Regions from separate parts of the Homo sapiens genome. Here regions 2, 3, 4 and 5 are each linked to region 1. The links are contacts of gene promoters, found by promoter capture Hi-C in blood cells and fetal thymus (Javierre and others, 2016). All regions are on one chromosome and are shown on one strand. Each heading gives the region's core, a stretch centred on a gene start or on the middle of the fragment in contact. The rest is flanking DNA. Distances are from core to core; before and after follow the strand shown.

Region 1 (2,756 bases), core at 179-2,678:
GTTTCACCATGTTGGCCAGGCTGGTCTTGAACTCCTGACCTCAAAGGATCCACTCGCTTCAGCCTCCCAAAGTGCTGGTATTACAGGCGTGAGCCACTGTGCTTGGCCTTAGTTACCTTTCTTCTGTTGCCTGGAAATTATCTCCAAGGAGTTAGCTGGGGTAATCATCAGGTTTATCTTATTTATTTCTTGTCTCACAGGGATCATTGATCATTGCCTGTGAAGAAATAATCTTTGTGGACAAGGTATTATTTTTTTTAAATATTGAGGCTATCAGAAGTTTTAAATCATCATTACTACTGTACAATCCTCTGACAAGAGGAAGGTGACATGTAGAAAATAAGGGCCAAGTGTGTTTGATTTTAGCTGAGTTTTGACATTTTAAAAATTTATACTAAACACAGTATACTTTATTTTTTTGAGGGGGGAAATATTAAAGAATCCTACGTATATTCTCTGATAACTATATTTTATCCTTCGTCACATTTTAGAAGTAAAATGTCTCTTTTTTCCTGGAAAACTGAAGATAACATTATCACTATAGTATTCAAGGAGAAAAACAATGGATGATGAGATTAAAGGGATAAAGCATTTTACTCTACTTGCTTTTTATAATCAAATACGATATAATTTTTATTATCCCTATTAAATTTCATCACTCAACTGATATTTAGAGTCTACTAACATTTAAAAAAATCTGATTTTGACCTTCAACTTACCTAGTATGTATTAAGGTGTTGTATTATTTGCATTTGAATTATATGCAAATATAGCTTTATCTAAATCACTGTTTACTTAAGCAAAGGCAGGGTAAACACTGAGGCGTACCCCTAGAAATCAATTTATTTATCAACAGACCTTTTGAGACTGCTTCAATAAAATACCAAATACCTCTAATTGTCTTATAGCCAATCTTTATTATTCTATAGTCCACGTAATGACAGATGTTCTAAAATATACTATGTATCCACTGCTTATTGGTCTGCCATAATAGGTACTTAGGTACTATATAAATACCTCTTGAAGCGAATTCAAATGAACAATAATCATACCAAAAGAGAAAAGATTTTCTTGCCCCATGACTTACAGCCACGTAGCAGCTTACAGTTTTACCACTTCCTCTTCTAGGTGGGGAAAAATAATTCCTTTAATAATCTATGCTAAGCTGTGATCCAACTTTTAAGTTTACTGATTTGTAGAATAAAACTTTTTCAAAAAAATTGTGGTAAACTATACATATGATAAAATTTTCCATTTTAAGTATGCAATTCATTGGCACTAAATACATTCACAGTGTGGCGCAACTATCACCACTATCCATTTCCAGAACTTTTTCATCATCCCAAACAGAAGCTCTGTACTTATTACACAATAATGCCTCATTCCTCCCCACCCCACTCCCAGGTAATCACTATCCTACTATGTGTCTCTATGAATTTGCCTATTCTAGATACTTCTTGTAAGTGGAATTCTTCTTAGAAAATCCAATAATTGTCTGATGTGTCTGGCTTATTTTACTTAACATAGTATTTCCAAAATTCATTCATGTTGTAGCATGTATCAAAATTTTATTTAAGGCTAAATAATACTCCATTGTATATATACATGAAATTTTGTTTATTCATCTGTTGATGAATATTTGATTTGCTTCTATCTTAGCTATTGTGAATAATGCTGCTATGGACATTGGTGTACAATTATCTGAGTCCCTGCTTTCAGTTATTTTGGGTAATATACCTAGAAGTAGAACTGCTAGATCATATGGTAATAATTCTATGTTTAACATTTTGAGGAACCACCAAATTGTCTTCTACATTCCCATTTTACATTCCCACCAGCAATACACAAGTGTTTCCAATTTCTCCACATCTTCACCAATACTTGTTAATTTCCATTTTTTAAAACAATTGTCATTCTGATGGGTGTGAAGTGGTATCTAATTTTGGTTTTGATTTGCACTTCTTGAATGGTTATGTTGAGCATCTTTTCATGTGTTTACTGGCCATCTGTATATCTTCTTCGAATAAATGTTTATTAAATTCCTTTGATCATTATTGAATTATGTTGTTAGTTTGCTTATTGTTGAGTTGTTACTGTGTTAAATATTCTGAATATGAATCCTTTATCAGATATATGATTTGCAAATATTAACTCCCATTCCACTAGTTGTCTTTTCACATTCTTGTTAGTGTCCTTCGATGCCCAAAAATTGTTAATTTTGATGATGTCTAATTTATCTATTTTTTCCATTTGTTGCTTGTACTTTGGAGTCTTTTTTTTTTTTTTAAGTGAAGATTGTTTTGATATCATCAGCATCTGCTGCAAACTTAAACCACTTTTGGGACTTTCTTTTCTCTTTTGTCTCTACCAAACTTTTAGCATCATTCCCTGATTCTAAATACATTTTCCACCTTCTTTTTACATGTCTTTTACAAATTTGAGCTTTTTTTTTAAGTTTTAAAACTTTTATAAGTTCAGTGTTGTCACTGTATGTTTACATATTCATTGATACAATTTACATCGAGATTTTTACTTATCCATTTTTGCAGATATGTACACAAAGATACATATTCAATAACTGAGAAACAAGTGAAACTTCTGATCTATACTTTCAGGTTTGTTCGATCATGACACTTCTGATAAGGATCATGGACATACCAGTTTCACCTCTTCCAGAAGGACGTCGTCATTTTATCTTAAGAGTTTACTCTGGGTTTTATTGCCGAATACAAATTCCCTCAATCGCTTTTTTCTTG
Region 2 (2,756 bases), core at 121-2,620, 500 kb before region 1:
AGATAGAAAAATCTACAGATGGAATGAAAATGTAAAGTTAGAGGCATTTCCATAAAATAGCAACTTTACACCAAATTCACTATTTTTTTTTAAATCCTGCCAAGTATTTGGACATATATGAAATGTTTCAAAACCTGACAGATAAACACTGAGATATGCTTCATTCAATAAACAGAAGTCTGCATTTATAAAACAGAAAGCTGCCTTTTTTCCCCAAAGAAATCTGTCACCAAAATGGAAAAGGGTCTCAACTTTACACCAAACATTTAGCAATAAAACCCTTTTGACTAACCAAATGGGAATAGCTTTTATAGCTCTTTACAGTTTTATAATTAACAAAAATATAGTTTTTTTTAAAACCCTCAAATTAGGGCACCCTAATCAAGGCAAAAAACTTAAGAAATGGCTTACTGTTAGCACAACACTTGTACAGTACTACAAAATGCACTGTCACTAACAAAGACATTAGCGGCATGCTGAAGTGTCACCTTAAACAAAATATACAATAACTGAAATGCTAAAGGCATTTACATGGAGTGGACAGGGAAGGGAAAAAAAAAGCTCTAGGTTCAATATTAAAACAGATAATTTGGGGGGGCTTGATATCCACATTGTTTAACAGAAGCAGGCACAACAAGTGGCTGCCTCCAAATTGTAGTCCAAAGAGAGGCCTTCCTTTGCAGAGAATTTTATATAAAAGTAACAGAAATGAAGGTACCAAAAAAAAGAAAAAGGAAAAAAAGAAAAACAACTTGTATAAGGCTTTCTGCTGCATACAGCTTTTTTTTTTTTTAAATAAATGGTGCCAACAAATGTTTTTGCATTCACACCAATTGCTGGTTTTGAAATCGTACTCTTCAAAGGTATTTGTGCAGATCAATCCAATAGTGATGCCCCGTAGGTTTTGTGGACTGCCCACGTTGTCTACCTTCTCATGTAGGAGCCATTGAGAGACTGTTTGGACATGCCTGTGTTCATGTAGCCGTGATGTCCGGGGGCCGTGTACATCATGTTACCGTGGGGTGGGGTCTGCATTGGCTGCTGGGCATATGGCTGGGTGCCCATCATGCCCATCTGCATCTGCATAGGGTATTGGGGCGTTTGATTCATATAGCCATGATTGCTGTGGTAGCCACTGTTCATCATTGGCTGGGACATGCTGTACCCATTCATGGCGTTGAGAGTGTTCATGTTCATGTTCACAGAGTTGACATTGTAGGCTGGCGCTGGCATCAGGTTCACACTCATGTTCATGCCTCTTTGCATCGTTAAAGTCCGTGCAGGACCCTGCATGGCTACAGTCTGGGAGCGCCCATAGATTTGTGACTGATGGGTGGCAGCGGCTGGTGACAGAGACGCTGACTTGGTTCTCATGGAGATGTGGCCCTTGCTGGCAATCTGGGTTTGCAGTCTTTGGCTGTGAGAGATGCCAATATTTGATGCAGCCATGTTCCGTTGCAAAAGAGGCGGCGGCAGATTCATTGGAGGAGGAGTCAGGTTGGGGGGTGGGGTCATGGTAGCTTGTGCTTGGGGTCCCCCAGGGACGGAGTGTGGAGACTGAGAAAGTTGAACAAGCCCTGTGTTACTTAATGGTGTGGACAAAGAGGCACTGTTTGCATAGGAAGTCACAGCAGCGGAATGGCTGTAAGGCAATGAATGATCAATAAGTGTATTAGTTAACTGCTGCAGTTTGGCAAGGCTGAAGGTGGCTGACGGCTGCGGGTAATGCCCAGCCCCAAAATCACTCTGACCCATTCGCTCGTATAAGCCAATGTTGGCGTTGCTCGTCTCGGGGATTTCAGCCAGCTGCATGGGTGGGGTGAAGTTAGCAGCCATGCTGCACTGAGCCAGCTGCTGGCTGCTGCTCGGAGGCCTCTCCACCACACAGCCTTGAGGAGACTTGACGCTGCAGGTCGGAGGGGAGCTGATGCTGGTTTGCTGCAGCATGCTGCAGCTCCCGCTGATGTTGGACATCTGCTGGGTGACAGCACAGCTGCTCTGTGTCAGACTGCTGGAGGTGAGGTTGCTATAGGAGCAGCTGTTCTGTGAAGAGCCGTTTCCACAGATGCTGCCTCCCATAGTAGAATCGTAGCTGCTTGGGTTTTCGTAGTTCTCAGTTGTGCTCTCGATACTGCCCAGGTCACTAAATCCACTGTCTACGACTTGCTGTGAATGATCTGAAACTGATGGGACATCCATCATGGGACTGGTTTCCATGTTCTGCAGAGATGGCACTGAGATGGCACTTTGATCTGGGCTGATTTGGGCGTAGCTGTTTTCCAGAGCAGGGACACTTGGGCTGTTGACAGAACGTACGGACTGGCCAGGATGGGAGTGGACGGATGAAACTGGGCTACTGTGGTCCGACTGTTGGCAATCGTCGAGCGTGGTGGCAATCTGTGGACTTTGGTCTGCACGGGTGTAGTTCTGTAGGCTTCTACAGGCCTCTTGAGTCTCGGCACAATCCTGAAAGGTGTCGTCCTGTTCGCTGCTCTCCTGGGTCAAAGACTGAACGGCCTGGACAGTCTCAGAGTCGATTTCCATGGTTGCTGGGTTTCCCTCTTTGAACTCTGTATCGACTTCCTTGCTGTTCTTTTGGTCCTGCTTCTGTGCCTGTTCTCCTGGGGGTGGCTCCTCGTCAGATTCGGGTACAGCTTCAGGGTCCCCAGCAAGCTCCTTGGGCTCACTGTTACAAGAAGCTGTCAGGTCGACGCCACAGTCCATTAAGACCTCTGGGTTCGAGTGACCAGGCTGCA
Region 3 (2,756 bases), core at 111-2,610, 470 kb before region 1:
TAATGTCTCTATTACAAGCTGGAATATATGTTCAAGGGGGAATAGTTCTCTTGAAACCCAAATGAGGTATAGCACTAATTTCAACCAAGCAGAGCAAAATCTTTCTTGATCTTGTTTTAACAACAGCTCAGGGCATAGTGGCTCACACCTGTAATCCCAGTGCCTTGGGAGGCCGAGGCAGGAGCATAACTTGAAGCCAGGAGTTGGAAACCAGCCTGGGCAACAAAGCAAGAGCCTGTCTCTAGCTGACCCCCCACCCCTCCCCCTGAAAAATGGCCAGGAATGGTGGCATGTGCCTGTAATCCCAGCTACTTGGGAGGCTGACATGGGAGGATCACTTTAGCTCAGGAATTCAATGCTGCAGTGAGCTATGATCACGCCACTGTACTCCAGCCTGGGTGACAGAGTGAGACCCAGTCTTTAAAAAGAAAAGCAAGGAAAAATGCGTCTCTTCTATATATCTTAACTGGGTAAATGGAAAATAGAGTTGGAAGCATTTCCTCCTCTGCACTGCCACAGCCTCTCTGAAATTTGAAATTGCAGGACTGGGAAGAATTTTGTGTCTGACCCTCTACTTCCCTATGGGCAAGGACTAAATCATTCATCCTTATGTCCTCATCACCTAGACCATCCCTGGCACAGTGTATTTAAAGCATGTTTGCTGAAGGATGGGATGAAGGGATAAATAAAGTGTAAAAAACAAAGACTGAGAGGAGATCTGAGTTTAAGCACTACTGGTCAAAAGCTAGCTGGATGCATCTGGCAGGTGTTGACAGTCATACAAAGAAGTGGATTAACTAGACTCAGGCATTCATTGATTTCCCCCAACAATCCTTTATTCTGTATCCTCTATGTGCTAGGCACTGTGCTCATGGCTTGGAGTTTAGCAATGACCAAGTTCCTGCCCTCTTGATGGTCCCACTAAGGTTTCATTTTGTTCCAGTTCTGCTGAAGATTAGGTTATTCTCATACCAATTATTTGAATGGAATTTGTCCAGTAGTGGATTTCAAAATAACTCAATGCAAATGCCAGTCAACGTTAGAAATCCAAACAGACAAAAAATTTGTTTGGTAAAAAAAAAAAACCAACCACCTGCATGCCAAAACTTGAAAAAATTCTGAGCTATGTAAGGCAAAACACTAGCTTTCAGAAAAAATGAGAGAGACTGCAGACCGTATGTTTCATATTTACAATGTTTTCATTGAGGCAATGAATACAAACTATTCTATAAGAGCTATTTATTTGCTCTTATTTATGACAAGCTTAGCTTAAAAAAAGATACACAAATAAATCGTTAGCCGCACTGTCTCATGCAACTCATTTCAATGCATTCAGCAACAGTCAACCTCTGAATAAATCACTGAGAGCTCAATTTTCAACCTTGATGTTATCTTTAGCATATTAAAATATATTGTACCTCAGACCAATATAATAAAACAGTAATGGCAGAAGCTTTTAGTGTAACATATTATAATGAGAAAATAAGGAAAAATAGCCATTTTCCTTATTATATTACAGACTAGAATCCTATTAAAATAAATGTCATCATTATACTTGATTACATAGGTCAAAATGTGTCTTCCAAAACCCAGCAAAAGCCCAAGGATATAGCTGCTGGTCCAGTATTTTCCAACAAGTGTCATGGGGGCAAAGGTGGGAGGCTCCTTATCTTAGAAAAGGCTATGAAGTACTTGAGCACCATTTCAAAAGCATAACTTATTATTCTTTAATGATTGCCTTGACTGCACTCACCCAGGAGCGTAGCTGCTGGGAAGGCTAAGCAAAGAGAAGCTTTCTTGACAGCTTCTTATGGCTAAAGCTGGTATTTTCCTTTCAAAAATAAATGCAATCAAGAAATGAATTATCTGATAAGAGAAAAAGTAAGCAAAAGATTTAAGTGTCTCTTCAACCTGCTATGTACAAATGTGGATTATGTCACAGCTCTGCTTTCTCCGCCCAAGGTTTAGAGCAGGCAGTGACATCTTCTTTCTGATGCAACTGAAATGATCTTAAGATAGAGGCTGCATTTCAGCAAAAGTACCAGACCTCGAAAGAAGACAGGGCATACCTAGCATCATTTGGAAGTAAGTAAACCAGTGCTGATGGTTTATGTTCTAATAAAATAAAATTGTCCCTAAGAATCACACACTAGAAGGGAAAGCACATTTTAAAAGTTCTTCCCGTCATAATTAATTTAACATTTGTTCAACAATTAATAAGAACCTACTAAGCGCCAGGCTCTTCTAGAAGATCAGAATGCAGCAAAGAGCAAAGTCCACACTCTCATGAAGCTTACTTTTGGTGAAAGACATGGGCAATCAACAATAAATACAGTCATGCACCACATAATGATGTTTAGGTCAACGATGGACCACATATTCAATGGTAGTCCCATAAGATTATAACAGCATATTTTTACTGTACCTTTTCTATATTTAGATATGTTTAGATACAAAAATACCATTATGTTACAACCACTAACACCTACGGTATCCAGTACAGTAACTGCTGTCCAGGTTGGTCACCTAGGAGCAATCAGCTATGCCACATAGCCTAGGTGTGTAGTAACCTATAGACTTCGACTTAGGTCTGTCTAAGTACATACACTATGATGTTCACACGACAATGAAGTTGCCTAATGGTGCATTTCTCAAAATGAATCTCAGTTTTTAAATGATAAATGACTGTATATAAAAGACCTATGCAAGTTTATAAATGACTCTGCACTTGCTTAGCCTAGTTTGTTGTTGTTTTT
Region 4 (2,756 bases), core at 73-2,572, 450 kb before region 1:
CAAGGTAGGCTTGTTTCAAGCACCTAGGAATGAGCACCAATGCACACCACAATGGGTCACAGAGGAGAAAATGCAGCAGACAACAGAAGTGTGCAAGTGGAGGGAAGAGCATAAAGGAGAAACGTGAAAAGCCCTGCAGACAGACAGTAACCTGTGAGAAAGGCATGGTCTCCTCAAGGTGAAACTGACTCAGCTTAACGGAATCCCTGAAACTGACAACAGATACATAATTAAACAATGCAACTATATAGAGGCAAAGGCCTGCTACGAAATCAATTCTGGAAATACAAAATGTCTTCAAGAAACCCACAATGACAGACATATGGCCACAAGGGGTTCCTGTGAACAGCAGAGTTCTTCAGGGGTGGCCATCTACCCAGATGGGAGGGAGTCCCAACATCTGCTAGGGTCTCACCAAAAGGATTATCCACACTGCCAAGAAGTGGATGGAAACACAGGTGGTTGTGTATTGAGGAGATATGTACAGCTGCTCAATTCCCTGGAAGAGTGAGCACCTGCCAGACATTGGCTGGAGCTGCTGAACAAAGCTCATTTCTCCTGCCAAAGAAAGTAGAATTTACAAAGAGCTGAGGAGATCATAAATTCATGGTGAATATATCTAGTGTAGACAGGGATTTTGGGGAAGACAAAAATGTTAATGTGATGAAGTAGGGATTCTTCATCAGTCTAAATGGTTGCTTAATATGGTTAGATAAACATTCCAAAACATGGAGATGTTTTAAAGGGCAGTCTGAATTTCAGTGCCAAAATTAAGTATACTTTGTACCTTCTAAACACAAATCAGCACATAGTCAACAATTAGGAGTACTAGATTTCAAAAAGCTGAATTTTTTTATTTACACGCGCTTACCTCAAATACTGAAAGGTCTTTCCTTCGGTAAATTTCATTTGCTGGAGGATGAAACCATCCACACTTCTTGGAGTGTCTTAGCAAAATATTTTTACTTTTCATATATTTAAGACAGAATTCACACAGGTAAAGCTTTGGTAATCTGTTAAAGTTTAAAAATCATAGAATCTATCAGATAGATTATACTGTTGGGGGGAAGATTAAATATTGTTCAATTTTCTCTACATCATAAAAAGGCTGTATAATAACATTGGAGGCTGGGTGCAGTGGCTCACACCTGTAATTCCAGCACTTTGGGAGGCTAAGGCAGGCAGATCACCTGAGATCAGGAGTTTGAGACCAGCCTGGCCAACATGGTGAAACCTCATCACTACTAAAAATGCAAAAATTAGCTGGGCGTGGTGGCACATGCCTGTGGTCCCAGCTATTTGGGAGGCTGAGGCAGGAAGATCGCTTAAGCCCATGAGGCGGAGGTTGCAGTGAATCGAGATTGCACCACTGCGCTCCAGCCTGGGCAACAGAGTGAGACACCGTCAAAAAAATAAAGAAAGAAAGGAAAGAAAGGAAAGAAAGGAAAGAAAGGAAGAAAGGAAGGAAGGAAGGAAGGAAGGAAGGAAGGAAGAAAGAAAGAAAGAAAGCCAGCCAATAGTAAAGACAGAATGTAAAAACAACCATACATTATTTTTTAATATAATCCATAATATGTGCTCCCTTTACTTTGTGAACAAATAATTTGTTTCCTTAAAAATATCCTATATAAAGAAAGCTTTACAGATGTGGAACCACCACCCTAAAAAATCAACTTAATAAGGATATCATCCTGTCAAGGGACCAAGCATATTTTTCAAAATTCACATTTACTATCTTATTTCCAATTATATATGGTTAGTGGTATAGATATAATATCTTACTCAGAAGTGAATTTATTATTTTAAACAATCTGCATACATATGAGGCTGAAAAGTCCTCAAACTTAGTTGTTACCATTTCCACCTCTGGAAGAGGTAACTTTAAAGTTATTATCAGAGATTTATATATGGTCTAAATGCAGTAAATAGCACGGCTGAAAATCAAAAGACCTAATTTGTTTTCTACCAATTCCACTGTTACTTTGAGTAAAAGACAAACACCTCTCTTCCCTGCTGACTTTTTCTCCACCTTAAAAATCAGAACATTTTTTATTTCCATATCTTAATGAACATGGCTGGTATTTATAAGAAAATGTTTAGAAGCACTTGCAAGGTCTTTGGAGTATAAGAATGGGGAAAAAGGTTTTCAAGAGAGAGGCAGACACAGGTGAGACTACTTTCAAATCTTGCACTTATGTACAAATTTTATTCAAATCTTTCAGAGCACATGGCTTATCATTACCTATGCAAATTAAAGCTCATAGTCTTTTAAAATTGTTCAAGAACACACAACCAAATGGTATAAGGAAGGAGAAACCAAAATTCTTGACTCTTATTTTGTCACTTAACTTTTAGAAAACACTTAGCATTTTCTCCAGTTACGTGATTGGCCAGACACTCACATGCTAACGAAAAAAAATAAGATCTATTCTATAAGAAAATCAAGTTTATAAATACTGAAAACTTTGCAGACTAAAAAATTTTTGAAGATACTAGTAAAGTGTACCCTGACATACTTTATGGAAGACATCTATTCTCAATGTACCCATTTTGGGATATATTCGTTCACAGGCTAATCTTGAGTTCAAGACAAACAAAAACTTGGATACCATTATTTTCTCCTTTTTATTTTTTATTTTTTGAGATGGGATCTTGGTCTGTCACCTGAGCTGGAGTGCAGTAGTGCAATCTCGGCTTACTGCAACCTCCACCTCCTGGGTTCCAGTGATTCTCCTGCCTCAGCCTCCCGAGTAGCT
Region 5 (2,756 bases), core at 179-2,678, 260 kb after region 1:
AACATCTGTGATACTTACAGATTATAGGCTAATTTAAAACATATAGCAAAGACTGATAAAATCCAAACATGTCTGGGTAATAACCATGCTTACAAGTGGACTAACATTTCTGTAATATCTAATATATGCCAGGCACTAGGCTAGGTATTTCACACACATTATCTTATTTTATCATCACCATAACTATATCAATAGTTGTATCAACAATTTTGCCAGTGAGGAAATGGACTCTGAGAAGTCACACAACTAATAAGTAGCACAAATGAGATTAAAGTAAAAACAAATTCTAGTGAAATAAAATCAATAGTGTAAGAACAGCTTAGCCAAAAAAAAAAAAAAGTTTTTCATGTGTTGGGGGGTGTTGCTGTTTCTTAAAGATATGGTGACTTGCTCTGTTGCTTAGGCTGGAGTGCAGTGGCGCAATCGAGCTGCAGCCTCGAACTCCTGGGCTCAAGCAATCCTCCTGCCTCAGTCTCCTGGGTAGCTAGAACTACAGGTTCATGCCACTATCTCTGGCTAACTTTTAAATATTTTGTAGAAATGGGATCTCATTATGCTGCCCAGAGCGGTCTCAAACTCCTGGCTTCAAGTGAACCTCCCACCACAGCCTCCCAAAGTGCTGGGATTACAGGTGTGAGCCACCATACCTGGCAAAGAAAAACAGCTTTAAGATGACTTCCTTAAAGAAATAAGTGCAATTTTACAACCATTCTTTATTTCCCTAATAAGATCCAAATTTTCTTTGGGGAATCATCCCTTCAACACTCTTAATCCATAAATTTCCAGCAGTGTTAACTCTATCTCCAGTTGCAGAGTAGATATGGAACCCAAACAAGCCAAAGAGGCCTAATATGACATAATCCTACACCTGTTTTTAGAGCCACTAAAACAGACAGACAGACACACACACACACACACACACACACACACACACACACAAATAAGGATATAAGCCAATAGCTGATGGCAGTACCCTACCTCTAGAAGATGAGGTGAAGAGGGTCCAAATAAAATTATTTGAACCTCTGCATCAAGCTTCACCTAAAATCAGCCATACCAACATCTTTTTAGATATGTGATCCAATAATTTCCATTTACTTAAGCCAGTATGAGTTAGGGTTTCTGTCACCTGCACGATACACATATCAACAAAAATTTAATGGTGTAACTCATCTCCAGAAATCAAATAATGCACTTAATTATTCCCAATCTGGAATCTTAAAAAAAAATGTAACAGGAATCAAGGAATCATCTTCAATACAGTCATTCCTCAGTATCTTTGAGGGATCCAGGACCCAACTTGGATACCAAAATGCACACATACTAAAGTACCACAGTTGGCCCTGTTGAACCCATAGATCCAAAAAGTTGGCCCTTCTCTCCATATACACAACTTTCACATTCCTTGAATACTGTATTTTCCATCCATTTTTGCTTGTAGATGCCAAACCAACCCATATAGAGGGCCAACTGTATTTACTGGAAAAAAACTAATATAAGTAGGTGCATGCAGTTCAAACCTGTGCTGTTTGAGGGTCAACTGTATTTGCATATAACCTGCATACATCCTCCCCAAACTTTAAATCATCTCTAGATTACTAACAATATCTAATACAATGGAAATGTATGTAAACTTTTGTCATATTGTTTAGGGAATATTGACAAGGAAAAATGTGTACATGCTCTGTACACAGGCAATTTCTTTTTCCCTAATATTTTCTTTCCACGGTTTAATCCACCAATGTGGAACCCATGGATATGTATTTCAAAAAAATTCAGTGGAATTGTACATTGACCTAGGAAAAGGCCACTAAAGCTTATTAAAACACCAAGTTCCTTCTGATTATATAATTTCAATATGAAAATTTCAATTATCTTTTTTAATATGAATTTTAAATGAAAATACCTTTTTATATACAACCTTTAAAATTAGAAAGAAATGAACTATTACTTTTAAAACACAGTTTATTTGGTGGACAAACTTCTTTACAATGCAAATTCCAGAAAATTTTTCAAAATGATCACTGGAGAAGAAAATATCAAGAACTATAATATACTATGGGTTATACTCAATAAGACAATTCGCTCATTTACTATACAAGCAGTGCCTTTTTTTTTCTTCTTTTTTTCTTTTTTTTGAAGCAGAGTCCTGCTCTGTCACCCAGGCTGGAGTGCAGTGGCGCGATCTCCGATCACAGCAACCTCTCCTTCCCCGGTTCAAGCAATTCTCTGCCTCAGCCTCCTGAGTAGCTGGGATTACAGGTGCCCGCCACCACGCCAGGCTAATTTTTGTATTTTTAGTAGAGACGGGGTTTCATCATGTTGGCCGGGCTGGTCTTGAATTGCTGACCTCGTGATCCACCCACCTCGGCCTCCCAAGGTGCTGAGATTACAGGCGTGAGCCACTGTGCCCGGCCGCCTTTCGATCTTTCTATTCTGAGGTTACTGAGCCTCCAGAGACTTCAAATAAGCAGTCTAAGACTAATGGCACCACCTAGCGTCCTGTACTGGTCACTATCTGACTCACTGTCTTCTACTTCCTTTTGCTGCTGGACATAGGCTAGTCTTCTTCTATTGCTGTTTTTCTTTAGTAATCCTTCCAAAAGTCATTTATGTCTCATTTATATATACATACACATCAACACATCATCCTTAAGTCTCCTTCTCTCATCCCTCTCTCTGCAATTGTCCCATTACTTTAGGAACAACTATTTAGTATGCCCTTGATCTTTCCCAGGTACTTGGTCCTTAACCTA

The links. The method cuts DNA at HindIII sites, captures the fragments that hold promoters and counts their contacts. A CHiCAGO score of 5 or more calls a contact.
Region 2: a contact is called between a fragment that was not itself captured here and the fragment with the promoter of ADK-AS1 in region 1, in 1 of 17 cell types (total B cells). The highest score is 5.1, in total B cells.
Region 3: a contact is called between a fragment that was not itself captured here and the fragment with the promoter of ADK-AS1 in region 1, in 1 of 17 cell types (fetal thymus). The highest score is 6.1, in fetal thymus.
Region 4: a fragment that was not itself captured here is called in contact with the fragment with the promoter of ADK-AS1 in region 1 in 1 of 17 cell types (activated CD4 T cells); the score reaches 5.1 in activated CD4 T cells.
Region 5: a contact is called between a fragment that was not itself captured here and the fragment with the promoter of ADK-AS1 in region 1, in 3 of 17 cell types (M2 macrophages, M1 macrophages and M0 macrophages). The highest score is 6.4, in M2 macrophages.

What each region holds. Positions count from the first base shown.
Region 1 is chr10:74,527,996-74,530,751 of GRCh38, reverse strand. It overlaps ADK-AS1 (ADK antisense RNA 1), which reads left to right and starts at 1,428. Exons shown (of 5, transcript NR_120673.1): 1 at 1,428-1,459. All of the region lies in intron 7 of ADK (adenosine kinase), which reads right to left. It also overlaps the pseudogene MRPL35P3. The HindIII fragment of the contact is 4,742 bases long and covers 1-2,756 here.
Region 2 is chr10:75,029,215-75,031,970 of GRCh38, reverse strand. It overlaps KAT6B (lysine acetyltransferase 6B), which reads right to left. Exons shown (of 18, transcript NM_012330.4): 18 at 1-2,756. The coding sequence ends at 925. Among named protein-coding and RNA genes, the nearest start is that of SNORD172, 8.9 kb to the right of the region's middle. RefSeq lists an enhancer at 1,347-1,846. The HindIII fragment of the contact is 2,870 bases long and covers 1-2,756 here.
Region 3 is chr10:75,002,385-75,005,140 of GRCh38, reverse strand. All of the region lies in intron 13 of KAT6B (lysine acetyltransferase 6B), which reads right to left. Among named protein-coding and RNA genes, the nearest start is that of SNORD172, 18 kb to the left of the region's middle. The HindIII fragment of the contact is 190 bases long and covers 1,266-1,455 here.
Region 4 is chr10:74,980,044-74,982,799 of GRCh38, reverse strand. KAT6B (lysine acetyltransferase 6B) reads right to left here. Exons shown (of 18, transcript NM_012330.4): 11 at 872-1,013. Among named protein-coding and RNA genes, the nearest start is that of SNORD172, 40 kb to the left of the region's middle. RefSeq lists an enhancer at 197-246. The HindIII fragment of the contact is 634 bases long and covers 1,006-1,639 here.
Region 5 is chr10:74,265,938-74,268,693 of GRCh38, reverse strand. All of the region lies in intron 3 of ADK (adenosine kinase), which reads right to left. Among named protein-coding and RNA genes, the nearest start is that of ADK, 120 kb to the right of the region's middle. The HindIII fragment of the contact is 781 bases long and covers 1,038-1,818 here.